2 separate regions of the Homo sapiens genome follow, and region 2 is linked to region 1. The links are contacts of gene promoters, found by promoter capture Hi-C in human tissues and cell types (Jung and others, 2019). All regions are on one chromosome and are shown on one strand. Each heading gives the region's core, a stretch centred on a gene start or on the middle of the fragment in contact. The rest is flanking DNA. Distances are from core to core; before and after follow the strand shown.

Evidence for each region. Contacts are between HindIII fragments. The study calls those that stand out against the background at their distance.
Region 2: a fragment that was not itself captured here is called in contact with the fragment with the promoter of OR6M1 in region 1 in 1 of the 25 tissues and cell types used here (pancreas).

What each region holds. Positions count from the first base shown.
Region 1 is chr11:123,804,936-123,807,956 of GRCh38, reverse strand. It overlaps OR6M1 (olfactory receptor family 6 subfamily M member 1), which reads left to right and starts at 1,608. Exons shown (of 1, transcript NM_001005325.1): 1 at 1,608-2,549. The coding sequence starts at 1,608. The coding sequence ends at 2,549. All of the region lies in intron 2 of LOC105369544 (a long non-coding RNA gene), which reads right to left. The HindIII fragment of the contact is 10,727 bases long and covers 1-3,021 here.
Region 2 is chr11:123,756,951-123,759,971 of GRCh38, reverse strand. No RefSeq gene overlaps it. Among named protein-coding and RNA genes, the nearest start is that of OR6X1, 3.9 kb to the right of the region's middle. The HindIII fragment of the contact is 5,008 bases long and covers 1-3,021 here.

The sequences.
Region 1 (3,021 bases), core at 359-2,858:
GCACAAAAAATTTATGTGGAAGAATATTTATTTGATCATTATTTATACAAGCAAGAAATGTAAACCATCTAAATTTTCAGCATTAAGCAACTGGCTAAATATATCACAGTCCCACTGATAGAATCAAACACTATACAATTCTCAAAAATGATTGTGAAGACTTCTAGGAGTTGACATGGAAAGATGCTAAATTGTTTTAAGAAAAAGGAAGAAAGAAAGAAAAGAGAAAGAAAGGAAAAGGAAAAAAGCTAATTACAAAATAGTCTCCTAGTATGATTTATTTTAGATACACAAGTATGTACTTTGAACTTTAAAATAGCCTAAAACTATATACACCAAAAGGTCACTGTATCTCTAAGAAGTTCGATTACAGATTATAATTTTCTTTTCTGCACTTGCATTTTTTAATTCTTTGCACTAAAAATGTCTTTCTTGTATAATAAAAAGAAAAATAAAATAAGAGGGTAAATTTTTTATCTTGGAGGAAAGTGCAGGGGGAGTTTGGAAAAAGAAAAAGAGGTGGCCACGATCAGTAGCAAAGAGTGGAGGAGATGCTAACTTATCTATTAAGGATTTATTAAGGAGGTGCTAAGTGATATCTAGATAAATAAAGCACCAAGGTCAGAGTTAAAGCATGGGCTGGTTTTTACCTAAAATGGGGAGGTCTCTGCAAAATAATCATTTCTCACATTGTGGGACAAAGAACAAACTAGATGATCTTGAAGTACAGTTTCACAATGTCGGCTGACAAAGTAAATGAAGTGAGGTGAATTACCTCTATGTTGCCTTCCTGTATATAATTTGTGCCTCTCTGATGTTATCACACTATATACGGTGCTCTCAAATGATCAGCCAGATATATGATACATATTAGATACTGCACAGAACTTGTAGAAGGTAGGTTTTAGACACAAAAGCATAATCTAAGGGCGAGACACTCATTATTTCTTTTTGAGGTGTCATCTAAAATGATTAATAGGAACCGTCAGCTGTTGTTCCTTTTAATAATCTCTGGACAGTTTTCACAGATCTATACATGCTAGGGAAAGATGTTAAGAATTCGGAGACTCTGGATATCTACAAATGTAGAAAAAACTAAATCAACCTTTATTAAATGACAACCACCAAAGTGAAAGAAAGTTTGTTATAGAAAAGACTTTACGTTTCTAAAGGATTTGCCACTCAGGAACTGTAAACCAGAATAATAGAAGGGCATTCTGATTAAGTATACATCAGTACATTAGCACATTTTTAGCTGAGAAAATGAAGCCAAAAGAATAGAAAAGATTAGAAATTTCATCAATGAAAAGGAATAGAATTTTATAACTAGAAGGAAGTTGAGTTTTTTTTATCCAGCCTTATTCCGTCATTTTACAGGAAAAACAAACAAACAAACAAAAAAAAACCATGTACCTAAATAGTATCTTGACTTTCCCAGTGTGGCACAATAATTAACTTGCAGATAGAGGACTACATACCAGGTCTACATCTCCCAATATAAGCCACTCTCCGCAATACATTCTCAGCAGATATTTACAAAATTACCTAAGCTGATTTTCCTTTTCTTGTTTCTTCAGGGAAACCCTGCCCACCATATAGTAGTTGTCATGGGAAACTGGAGCACTGTGACTGAAATCACCCTAATTGCCTTCCCAGCTCTCCTGGAGATTCGAATATCTCTCTTCGTGGTTCTTGTGGTAACTTACACATTAACAGCAACAGGAAACATCACCATCATCTCCCTGATATGGATTGATCATCGCCTGCAAACTCCAATGTACTTCTTCCTCAGTAATTTGTCCTTTCTGGATATCTTATACACCACTGTCATTACCCCAAAGTTGTTGGCCTGCCTCCTAGGAGAAGAGAAAACCATATCTTTTGCTGGTTGCATGATCCAAACATATTTCTACTTCTTTCTGGGGACGGTGGAGTTTATCCTCTTGGCGGTGATGTCCTTTGACCGCTACATGGCTATCTGCGACCCACTGCACTACACGGTCATCATGAACAGCAGGGCCTGCCTTCTGCTGGTTCTGGGATGCTGGGTGGGAGCCTTCCTGTCTGTGTTGTTTCCAACCATTGTAGTGACAAGGCTACCTTACTGTAGGAAAGAAATTAATCATTTCTTCTGTGACATTGCCCCTCTTCTTCAGGTGGCCTGTATAAATACTCACCTCATTGAGAAGATAAACTTTCTCCTCTCTGCCCTTGTCATCCTGAGCTCCCTGGCATTCACTACTGGGTCCTACGTGTACATAATTTCTACCATCCTGCGTATCCCCTCCACCCAGGGCCGTCAGAAAGCTTTTTCTACCTGTGCTTCTCACATCACTGTTGTCTCCATTGCCCACGGGAGCAACATCTTTGTGTATGTGAGACCCAATCAGAACTCCTCACTGGATTATGACAAGGTGGCCGCTGTCCTCATCACAGTGGTGACCCCTCTCCTGAACCCTTTTATCTACAGCTTGAGGAATGAGAAGGTACAGGAAGTGTTGAGAGAGACAGTGAACAGAATCATGACCTTGATACAAAGGAAAACTTGACACTGGTATACACTACATTAAATACATTTCTTTTTTTATTATTTTTTTTAAGTTCCAGGGTACATGTGCAGGATGTGCAGGTTTGTTACATAGTTAAACGTGTGCCATGGTGGTTTGCTGCACCTATCAATCCATCACCCATGTACTAAGCCCAGCATGCATTAGTTCTTTTTCCTAATGCTCTCCCCAACCCCCAGCCCTCCCCCAATGGCACACATTTCTTATCTTCAACACATTCTTTCTGCACGACTATGGTGGTGTTTGGTGTGCCAGAAACTGAGATGGTGCCCCAGGATGAGCAATGATCATGCCAAACTGAAGGAAAACTCTGATCATGTCTGGGAGAAAATTCAATCCATGAAGTATCTTGCATATACCACGAAGGGAGGCTGGGTGCAGTGGCTCACACCTGTAATCCCAACATTTTGGAAGGCCAAGATTGGAGGATTCATTGAGCCCTGGAAGTTGAGGC
Region 2 (3,021 bases), core at 196-2,695, 48 kb after region 1:
TCTCGGCTCACTGCAAGCTCCGCTTCCCGGGTTCACGCCATTCTCCTGCCTCAGCCTCCCGAGTAGCTGGGACTACAGGCGCCCGCCACCGCGCCCGGCTAATTTTTTGTATTTTTAGTAGAGACGGGGTTTCACCTTGTTAGCCAGGATGGTCTCGATCTCCTGACCTCATGATCCACCCACCTCGGCCTCCCAAAGTGCTGGGATTACAGGCGTGAGTGAATGCAATTTTTATTCTGTTCAATCTCACATTTCTGAATACATGGCCATTTTTATATTATTGACCAAATTGACTACCTTTGATTCAATTCAGTTCATTAAAGGACCCCATTTATTTATTAAGATGTCAATAATTTTCCTTCTTGGAGAACTGAGAAATCCAAGATCTAAAAACTTACAAAATTAAAAGATTCTCAGACTTTGGTTAATTACCTCAGGAGTGCAGGAATGATTGATACCAATTAGAATTTAGAAAACTACAAATTCCTCAGCTTGACTTGTGAATAAACTTTTAGTGAGAACTTCCCTATCTCCTGGGACTCTCTGGAGCAAATCCATGCAGACTGATGTCTCATAGGAACCTGTGAAAATGTCCCACTAACAAATTGTTATTTTCAGAGAAGGTATCCTGACCTAGCAGGAACAGATGAATTAATTACTCTCAATACAATTCTCCTAAATGCTGAAGAAACCTTGCCATGTCATGAAAGCTTTATGAATACAATTCAGTAATGCATAAGGACACTTGCATTAAAGTATAGAAAAAGAGATTCATTTTCTGTGCAGAAAAAAAAGAAAAATTTTCTGTTCCAATTATACTGCCTTTATAACCCAGCTCTCCTTTTCTGTCAGTCTACTGTGGGCAAGGACACACCTTGCGGCTGGAAGTGTTTTCCTGGAAATCAGTAGTGCTGTAAGTATTGCTTTGTCACCAAGAAAGAGTACTATTTTGGAAAAACCTTTGCTTTTCTCTAGAATGAATTGATACAGCTAGACTTGACCCCTTGAAGTCTTAAAGTAAATCCTAATAAATCAATTTTGGTATCATGTAGAAAAGTCATCACAATGACCTGGACTTGGATCTTCCTCAGAAAAGCAGTCTTTATTCACCACATCTTACCTAGAACCATCAGTCCTTGAAAGGAATTTCAAATTGGTTCTTCATTCAAGTTTCAGCTTAGCACAAGTCCCCTGAGTGATGAATCTTGGTTTATTTCTCTTTGTGAAGCTTATTCTATATGTACTTAATGTTTCTGTTTTAGAGTTCTACACCACTGGGCATATTCAAATTTATTCCATAATCAAAGTCTTGAAAATTGAAATTGGTCTTCATCAGCAATTTAAAAACAAACAAATAAATAAACAAACAAGACTTGGAACATTTTGCTGTTATCCAGAGAAGAAAATATGTTAATACTTTTCTTCTTTTTGTCTTCTTCTAAAACTATAAAAAGTTTTAGAAAATGTGGGATTCTTTATCGCACAACAAAACTCAGAAAAAAATGACTCAATACAATTTCAAGCAATTGAGCATTAAATGAGTTAAGAAAATTATCTGTACTCAGGCAGCCTGAAGAAGCTGGGAAAAGAACCAGAACACAGTAAAAACAAAACAAAACACCAGCATATCCCTGATTAGGGAAAGATGGAGCAGAAAGGTTTTCATGCGGCAAAACTCACATCAGAAAAAGTTGGAAGCAGAAGAAAACTTGGAGACAAATTATTTAGCAAAGAGTCCCTGTTATGATATGACTTGAGCACTTGAAATACAGGAAACGGTGACATGTATAAACATGTGCATGTGTCAGTTTCCATAAACTTCTAGGTAACTGGGGACAGAGTGTCAACAAGCTATCCATTTATATAATCATTTAGAAACTATGTTTTGAGAGCTTATTTTGTGTCAAGCTCTATGCTTCGGCCCTGCAGACACTGTTGCTGCCTGCAAGGGGCTTAGAGTCTATAGCAGACACCAAGCAAACAATAAACACAATTCTGCAAAGTGTTCAGGTATAGATATGCACAGGGCATTAGAAAAGTGTGTAGGAGCAGCACCTTAACTGGACTAGAGGTGGCAAGTTAAGGAAGGCTTCCCATGGAGGTGGCTCCTAAACTTAAATCTAGAATTCAGACAAGACTTAGCCAAATAATGGAGAAAGTCGGGAAGGGTATTTCTGGTGAAGAGAACAGCAGGTGCAATGACTGGGAGGCAAGAAAGAAGATGGCATAATTGGGGAACTAGAGCAGGAGTCAGCCAGCTGTTTCTGTAAAGGGCCAGATAGCAAACCTTTTAGACTTTGGGGGTCATATGGTCTCTGTCACAATTACCAAACTTCACCATGATAGCACAAAAGCAGCCACAGGCAATAGGTAAACAGATGAGTGTGGCTATGTTTTAGTGAAACTTTACAAAAACAGGGCCATAGTTTGCTAACCTCTAAACCTGAGTAATTCAGTAAGTGTGGAGCATAGAAGAAGGCAGAAGGAAAAATGGCAAATGGCAGAAAATCATGCTGGAAAGGTAGGTAAGACCAGATCATCGGTGGTCTTAAATGTCATGCTGAGGAGTCTGGGATGTTAACTTCAAGATTCTGAGGAGTGGCGTAGTCAGAATTCGAATGGTCCCCCTTGCTACAGTTTGAACCATCGGTAGGAAAGAGCACAGCAAGTCAGGAGACAGGGAGTCCTGTTAGGAGGCTGTGTTCGAATCCTGATGGGAGATGACAGCATGATTTACCGGAGCCAGGGAGAGACGGAAAGGACACACACTAGAGAGTGAGTAAGAAGTAAAGTTAACAGGATCTGGTGACTTGGACCCTGGTGGATATGGAGGAATCCATTTGACCCTATACATTGTGACTTTTTAAAAGGAAGAAGAAGTCTAGAGTGTAGGATTGAATTGTAATAGGCATATAGACTGCAGTGTTTAATCCAGCATCTTAGCTCTATAACTTTAGGTTCCTTGGGTTGCTTTCCTGTGTTTCTCTGAACATTGCTTTTACCTGCTAACTTGAGACATCC